Regions from separate parts of the Homo sapiens genome. Here region 2 is linked to region 1. The links are contacts of gene promoters, found by promoter capture Hi-C in blood cells and fetal thymus (Javierre and others, 2016). All regions are on one chromosome and are shown on one strand. Each heading gives the region's core, a stretch centred on a gene start or on the middle of the fragment in contact. The rest is flanking DNA. Distances are from core to core; before and after follow the strand shown.

The links. The method cuts DNA at HindIII sites, captures the fragments that hold promoters and counts their contacts. A CHiCAGO score of 5 or more calls a contact.
Region 2: a contact is called between the fragment with the promoter of LRGUK here and the fragment with the promoter of IQUB in region 1, in 2 of 17 cell types (non-activated CD4 T cells and activated CD4 T cells). The highest score is 6.1, in non-activated CD4 T cells.

The regions. Positions count from the first base shown.
Region 1 is chr7:123,533,220-123,538,768 of GRCh38, forward strand. It overlaps IQUB (IQ motif and ubiquitin domain containing), which reads right to left and starts at 1,376. Exons shown (of 13, transcript NM_178827.5): 1 at 1,273-1,376. LOC124901740 (a long non-coding RNA gene) reads left to right here and starts at 1,312. Exons shown (of 2, transcript XR_007060507.1): 1 at 1,312-2,206; 2 at 2,386-3,040. It overlaps NDUFA5 (NADH:ubiquinone oxidoreductase subunit A5), which reads right to left. Exons shown (of 5, transcript NM_005000.5): 5 at 3,778-5,549. RefSeq lists silencers at 1,443-1,672, 1,693-1,842, 1,923-2,052 and an enhancer at 2,123-2,262. The HindIII fragment of the contact is 3,094 bases long and covers 739-3,832 here.
Region 2 is chr7:134,126,021-134,128,589 of GRCh38, forward strand. LRGUK (leucine rich repeats and guanylate kinase domain containing) reads left to right here and starts at 1,320. Exons shown (of 20, transcript NM_144648.3): 1 at 1,320-1,644. The coding sequence starts at 1,348. RefSeq lists enhancers at 1,173-1,222, 1,333-1,602. The HindIII fragment of the contact is 1,507 bases long and covers 230-1,736 here.

The DNA.
Region 1 (5,549 bases), core at 126-2,625:
GCAACAAACATTTTATACATCTATCTCTGTATATATGTGTAAGTATACTGAAAATGAGTTCCCAGAATTAGAATGGACAAGTCAAAGGGCATACAGATCTTAATTTTGTTAAATTCCATCAAACTGTTTTCTATTATAGCCCCAAGAAGTTCCCCTTGACTGTTTCCTTACATCCTCATATTGTTTTATGAGTCCTAATAATTAAATATCCCTTTGTTGTGTGTTGCCCTTATATTTCCCATTGTATGTTTGATGTTGTTTTTCTCTTACTATATAAAAGTTTTAGATTGTTAGGTAGTGACATTTATCAATCTTTTTGCTTATGAGAGTTTCCAAATTTCCTGACATGCTTCGAAACACCTTCTCACAATGAAACATAAATACATAAATTCATCCATAAATGCATAAATGAGACAGATCTGTAAATATTGATAGAAAACAACTGGACACACAGTCTTAAGTGTAAAAGCCAATCACAGAAGAGTATGCACAATGTTACAGGTGTAACTACATATTTGCGTATGTCTAAAACACCTGTGGAAGGTGGCCTGGAGATGGGGAGAAATGGGTAGATGGAGGATTTTCACTCTTCATTCTTTTTACTATTCGAACTATTTTTTTATGTATTATCTATTCAAATGAAAATGTTTAAATCTTATTGTTTAAAAAGCAACCTCTATCATGTTTGCATACAAAAAAGTCTCCCTTTTCACCTACATTTCATTCCCTACCATTTAAAGCTTAACACATTTAGAATGTAGTATAATTAGTGAGGCAGGGATCCAGTATTGCCTTCTACCAAATAGATCTGTTGAATTTTTAGGTTTGTTAAGAGGCAAAGACCAAGGGTGGAGAGGAAGGAGTGAGAGTGCCAGGTGAGGAAAGTCTAAAATCTCTCGACTTAATATGAGAATGGTGGCCACGGAAGGCTAAGAGTCTCTAGTGCCAGGTGTGGGTTATACACACATCTTCTATGCAATTACCGTGACAAGCACCCAGGGTGTGAGGTGAGGTGTACCTCCTAGCTTGATGCTGCTGGTTCAAGTCCCAAATCAGAGAGGGGAAGCCAAAAAAGGAGCCGAGAAAGATGAGATGCTTCGCACGGTTTTTAAAGTAAAGTCGGAACATTCCTGACCGACTAGGCAGCCCCAGGCGCTCAGGTGGGAATCACTGCCCAGCACACAGAACCCAGAGTCCAGCGCGGCTGTCACCGGCTCTAGGCTGGATCTAAGCGTCGGACCAGGAGGCCGCAGTCAAAATCTGTTCTCCTACCTGTGTACGAAACCAAACTATTCTCGTCGAAGTGCTTTCCCAGGCTCCTAAGACGCAGCTTCCATACTCGCCGCGTTCTCAGCTGTTGGTCGTATCCTAGCAACGGCCCTGGCACCACCTCTTCCTGCCGGAGCACGGCAGGGGTGGGAAGGAGAGGAGCCAGAGGCGGGTGGGGGGGAGGAGCCAGAAGAGGGCAGCGGGGAGGGGCCGGGAAGGAGGAGCGCGGCAGGGTAGGGGGAGGAGCCAAAGACTGGGGGCGGGGCCGGGAAGGAGGAGGGCGGCAGAAGAGAAGGGGATGAGCCAGAGGCGGGGAGGTGGGGCCGGGAAGGAGGAGTGCGGCAGGAGAGAAGAGGAGTAGCCAGAGGCGGAGGGGCGGTGTCGGGAAGGAGGAGCGCGGCAGGAAATAAGGGAAGGAGCTAGAGGCGGGCTGGGGGCCGGGGTCTGGAAGGAGGATCGCGGTAGGGAAGAAGAGGAGCCAGAGGAGGGGGATGGGGGCTGCAAAGGAGGAACGCGATAGGGAAAAGGGGGAGGAGCCAGAGGCGAGGGGGCGGGGAGAAGAAACATGGCAGGAGAAAGGGGAGGAGCCAGAGGCGAAGAGACAGGAAGAGGGACGCGTCAGGGAGAAGGGGAGGAGTCAGAGGCGAGCGGGCGTGGAGGAGGGAAGCGGCAGGGAGAAGGGGCGGGGCCAGAGGCGAAGGGGCGGGGAGGAGGGACGCGGCAGGGAGAAGGGGAGGAGCCAGAGGCGGAGGCTGTTACCAACTGGCTACCTAGATCCAAGTGAATCAGGACACTAACTTCTCTCCAAGATCTTTTACACTTGTGAAACGGCACAGCTCTCTAAACCAAACACTGACAGCAGTTTAATTTTACAGATATAAAAAAAATCCGAGTCAGAGAAATCATCACGATGAAGTCAGAGGCGAGAAACTGTCAGGTGCCTACTTGCTTTTGTTAAACTAACAACTTGGCTCTCAGCTTCCTGGCAGCCAAAGAGAAAAGGGAGATAGTAGCTATCAAATAATTCTGCTTAGAAGAACTTTTGTTAATCACTAAATTAGTTAATAAACTAAATTTTGTCTAACAACAAATTCTTTTTTTTTTTTTTTTTTCTAGTGTATACAGAGTCTTGCTCTGTCGCCCAGGTTGAAGTGCAGTGGTTCGATCTCGGCTCAATGCAACCTCTACCTCCCTGGCTCCCGCGATTCTCCTGCCTCAGCCTCCTGAGTAGCTGAGATTACAGGCGCCCGCCACCACCCCCGGCTAATTTTGGTATTTTTAGTAGAGATGGGGTTTCACCATGTTGGCCAGGCTGATCTGGAACTCCTAGCCTCAAGCAATCCGCCTTCAAAAGTGTTGGGGATTACAGGAGTGAGCCACCGCGCCCGGCCTATCAATGAATAAGAAAACTTTTAAAGAACCACAGGATAGTATTGGAGGTCAAGTCAAGTATGTTCCTCTTGGAAATTTAGTAACAAACTACATGTTGCTATCTCATAATAGCAGCTAACATTTATGAAGTATTCATTGTCATGAGGCACCGTACATAGATTTCTAATTTAATCCTTACAACGATTTTATTAGGGAGAAACTGCTATTAGACCCATTTTGTAAATGAGAAAACTAAGGCACACAAAGTTTAATGAGGGAACCAGGATTAAACCTAAGCAATCTAACTCCAGGTCCCAGATTTTTTAACCATTACAGTACTGTTTAATTTGATTTGATATGTTAAAAGGATTAATAAAATTAATACAGGTCCATTCCCTTATTCATAAATGTTCATTGTCTTCATTTATTTCTTTATACTGTTCTGCTGAAATTGCACTCTCATCTCCCCAATAACTTTGTAATATCCAATGCCATTTTTTTCAGTCATCCCATTTTAAAATATATTTTTACTAGAATAGTGAAATATATATTCAGATAAAATTGGCTTTGTTTTAATAATGATCAGTAAAAGTAAATTCATTTTAATCATTTCCACACATTCATGAAAAGTAAAGGGGAAAAATGGGCATAGAGGTAACCACTAGAATTAGGCTTTCTTGGATGGGTAGACCAGGTGTGGAGGTGTGCAGATAAGATTTTACAAACACTCATACACTCCCATCTCCAAAATCATAATTTATCTTACATTCTGCTACTAATAAACATTCCACTGGTTTTAAACATTCACTTTGCTGGGTCTCCTCTTTAAAATTTGTCATTCACTGTTCTCAATGTTAGAGACGGTATGCAAACAGTAGGTTTAGGAATAGAGTCAGGAGATGGGGGAAGAAAAACTGGTAGGAGAGAACTTAAGTGTCTCACAGTGTTAAATGTGACTTGATAGCCACTATTCATTTTTTTTTGTAGTTTGCTGTGAGGATGACTTTATACAATTTAATCTTAAATAGGAACCTAACTTAGTTAGGCTTCCTTGGGTAGTCTGTGGAGCATGGAAAAGTTATTAGCATGTCAAAATCCTGTCCACGCACACATACACGCACATACACACAAATGTAGTTTGGTTACATAATAAATTTATATTCAAACTTAATGAAAACAACCAATAGGAAAAAGCTTCTCAATTCCAAAAGTGAAAGAGTAATTTTACAATACCATTTTCCATTTTCCTTTTCATGATAAATCTATGCATTTTCTCAGGATTTATTCCACCAAACGACTTCGTATTTCTCATGAAACATCTACCTTTATTCATCTCAGCATTTATTTATGTAATAAACATTTCTTTTGATGTGCTTTTATTTTTACAAAGATGCCACCTAGTGGCTTGATAAAATCAAGCATTTCAAAGTATCTCCTGTTGTTACTACAGGTTAAAATGAATAATGAATATTTTTAATATTAAAATAATTTAGAAAACTAAGGACCTGAAAATTTTTGTTTTGGAAATTATTTAGATTAAATTTGGATCATAATACCACTTTGTGAACTTGTTAAGAGAATGGAAATATAGGTCTATTGTCCCTTTTCTGAAACCTTTTAAGACAGATGTGTTTGATATTCACAATTTTTCAGATTTTTGAAAGGAAATATGGGCATATACTTTACATTATGTAACACATTAAGAGGGTCTGAGGAAGCAGTTTAGAATCAAATATATTGATACATCTGTGGCAAAATATATTCATATTCACATTGAAGTGCGATAAATACCACAAATAGCCTCATGTAATTCAGGTGGGGTTTGTTGCCAAATGAGTTATGAAAAAACTTTGTTTTCAGAGATTTTTGAAATTAGGAATTTAGATAAGGGACTTTGGACCTGTTTTACTCTGGTGAAAAATAATTCACCCTCCAGTTATAGAGAGATTAAAATGCCAATATTTTGTAAAAAAAAAAAAATAGTTATCTTTAGAAAACCTAATAGATTCACCTAAAAAAAAATTGAAGATCATGAGAAATACCAAAATAGAAATCTTTGCAATGCTTTTCATTTAATTATATACAGATGCCAATCATAAATTACATTTAAGTGTACCACAAAAAATTAGCTGCTAATGTAAACCTAAAGACCAATTTGAAAATTATTAGTGATGCATGGCAAGTTCAATTCATAAATTTTGTGGCACAGTCAAAAAAAAATTTAACCTTGGTTGTTTCTTTTTTTTTATTCCTATGTGTAATTTACCATGTTCCAATTCCCCACCACCACTATGGTCATGGAAATATATGTTGATGGTGCCACACTCAGCCTGGATTCCTTGTGGGTCTATGAGCACTCCTTGCCAACCCTCCTTAGACATGCAGTATGAATAAAAAATACACTTAAGACACTGGGATTTAAGGATAACCCATGCTAAGTCACTACATGACTCACTATTTTACTTCACGATCTAGAATACTGACTCATCTCTAGTCTCTCAAATGAATTCTTCCTGTCCCCATCAATCATTCAAACCCCTTATCACATTCCCACTGTGATTTCCTGTGAATTTTGTCTAAAATAAAACGTCGACCTCCTCTAAACACAACTGGTAGCCTCTCATTTACTTTTCTCTAAAACAATTGGCATTACTATTGTTGTAGCATAGGCTACAATCTCACTGAACACTTAGTTTTTGTTTTTGTTTTTAGTAGAGACGGGGTTTCACCATATTGGCCAGGCTGGCCTCGAACTTTTGACCTCAAGTGATCCACCCACCTCGGCCTCCCAAAGTAGTGGGATTATAGGTGTGAGCCACCACGCCTCCCTACTGAACACTTAGTTTTAATGGGAAGACTGCACTCAGCAAATCCAAAATACTAGTGATATGTTCAGCAATTTGGTACTT
Region 2 (2,569 bases), core at 70-2,569, about 11 Mb after region 1:
AAAACGATCGAGATTTGCATTTTTACACTTTCTGCCTGATTCTTCCCTATGTCACTTAGCCGAAGCCAGGCCCTACGAGGGTAAGGGTGGGGAAAATTCCCTTGGAGGAATCTCTACTTATTGGAAAAAGAAATAAGCAAAAAGCAAGATGAGCCTGGCAGAAAGAGATATTTTGCTTGTGGCCTTTACATTTATGACTAGCAAGATAATGAAGGAAGGTAATTCTGAAAGCTTTATGTCAGTTTTAACGGTCCCTCAAGCACTGAGAAAGATAATCGTCAATGGATGGTGTCCATAAGGATTTTTTCTCCTTCTCCCCTGACAGCCATTGACAGGATCATTTTGTATTTGCAACTGCTGTCATTGAAGCGTGCAGAAAAGGCCCTGTAAGGCCAGAAGGATGAGGGCTACTTCCCTGCAAGGATCTCTATTGTCATCACTATGGCAATAATAGTTACTATAATTTTCATTCTGCTTTTCTATAGAGTGTCGACGTTGTGGAGCTTAAGGCTATGGGATTTGGGTCACATAAAATCACACTAGCATAAAATCGTGCTTTGTTATCTTGAAAGAGTATTTTTTTTAACTGCAAAGAGAGCCTGTGCAACAAGATTAAAATAATTGCCAATGCAGGTCACTTGACTAATATAATTATTTATGGGATGCTAATAGCTTTTCAGACGCTTTCAGATACAGTGTCAATTTGACAGCAGTTTTTTCTCTCTCTGTTTGGATTGTAAGACCACTGCCAGTTTTTCTCCCCAAGGACAAGGCTTATCATTGGGGGGTGGGGGTGGGGAATGTAAATTAATTGGAAATCAGCTCTCAGGCGTCGTCTGGTAGTTTCTCTTTATTATCTGCAATTAAATCATAAGGACAGGAACCATGCCTTCTATTTCACTTATATGCACCCTCATCTCCTAGCGTCGCGCTTTGCATAAATTTCAGTGGTACTAGCTTTCCTACAGACTGCTTTAGAGACATTAGACACTTCTAAAGTACGACTCTGCGGAAAGAGCCCTTTGGGAATGAAGCGGCAACGGTGGCGCACCTGCGATCCTATCGTGGGATGACAAAGCTCTAAGAGGGGTCTCAGGGTAGGGAGGAAACAGCTGGAGACAAAGAAAGGGGGTGTAGCGAAAAGAGGTGAAAACAGGAAAGATAAGCGAACAGAACAGACCAAAGAGAGAAAAATAACAGAAGAGACTGAGAAAAAGAAAAGTCAAGTGGAGCGCCCACTGCCCCGCCTGCAGAAGGCGAGTACGCGCGGAGGAGACTACAGGCCCCAGAATCCTCCGCGGTTCCCCTTGCCTGGGGTCAGTCTCCTAGGCAACCCCGCTAAACAAGATGGCGACCTCCGAGAGGGCTCTCCTGAGGACCAGAGCTGCCTCTCTCCTGAGAGGCTTGGGCAGATCCCGAACTGGAGCCCGATCGTTACAGTTTCGCGCAGAAAAAGAGCGTCAGCCTTGCTGGTCTTTTCCCATGGGGCAGAAGACGAAAGGCAGCTCTAACATAGCCTCCTCCTACCTGCTCCAGCAGCTCATGCACCGCTATCAGGAGCTGGACTCGGACGGAGATGAGGACCAGGGCGAGGGCGAGGCGGGATCCGAGGAGTCCTCAGAGTCCGAAATGCTGAATTTGGAGGTGTGTCTTCCCCCCCACCCCGTACTCCCTGGCTCCCTCGTCCAGCCCTGTTACTTCAGCGGCAGCTCCCCGATGCACCCCCACCAGCCCGAAGCTTCCCACACCTTCTCAGGCTCTCTCGCCTCCAGGAACGCCTCTTCCCCCTCTTTTCTTCCCCTGTCTTTTACCCCGTTTTCTCACCCCCTGCCTGAAATAGCTCTAAATAGTTCCTTTCTTTTTTCATTAACACATTTGATTTCTTATGAGTCGAGTTAACACAGCGTCACTTTGTAAGAGTGTCTAGATAATTGTCTGGGAATTATGGCTTTAGCTTTTTCAAAATTATACTTTGACAGTATTGTGAATAGGCAGAGTTCATCTCTGACATTGCCAGCACCTGTTGCCCATGGCTATGACATACTTCCACACTCTTCCTCAGTTCTAGTCCCGTCAGCCTCCCTCCAGGAAAAAAAAAAAAAAAAAAATCCGCTTTTGAAAGTGCTTCTTCAAAGACTAAGTGACTTAAAAGTTGAATACATTACTTCTGTCGGGGGCATATGCCTTATACAAGCAACATGCACACACACCAGAAAAGAGCCTTATAATGTTCGAACAGCCAGCTCATTGTGGGAATATTTTAGGATGTGGGGAATGTTCCCATCATCCCACCCATATTGACTGGGATGGCGGCTTCGCGTTTCACATGACTGCCATTCCCTCCTTTCTACAATATCTCTTCTGACCACCACACAATTCCTCTTCTTTCTTATGCTTATTATGGTCCTTTTCCTTTCTTAGTCCATTGTTGTCTTCTTGTCCTTTTCCACTTCTCATCACATCACTTCTTTTCTCTTGGCTTCTAATAAATTGCTTTCTTTCAAAAGCGTAATTTAATTTGCTTCCTTTCTATTTTGTTTATGTTTTTGAGATGGAGTCTGGCTTTGTC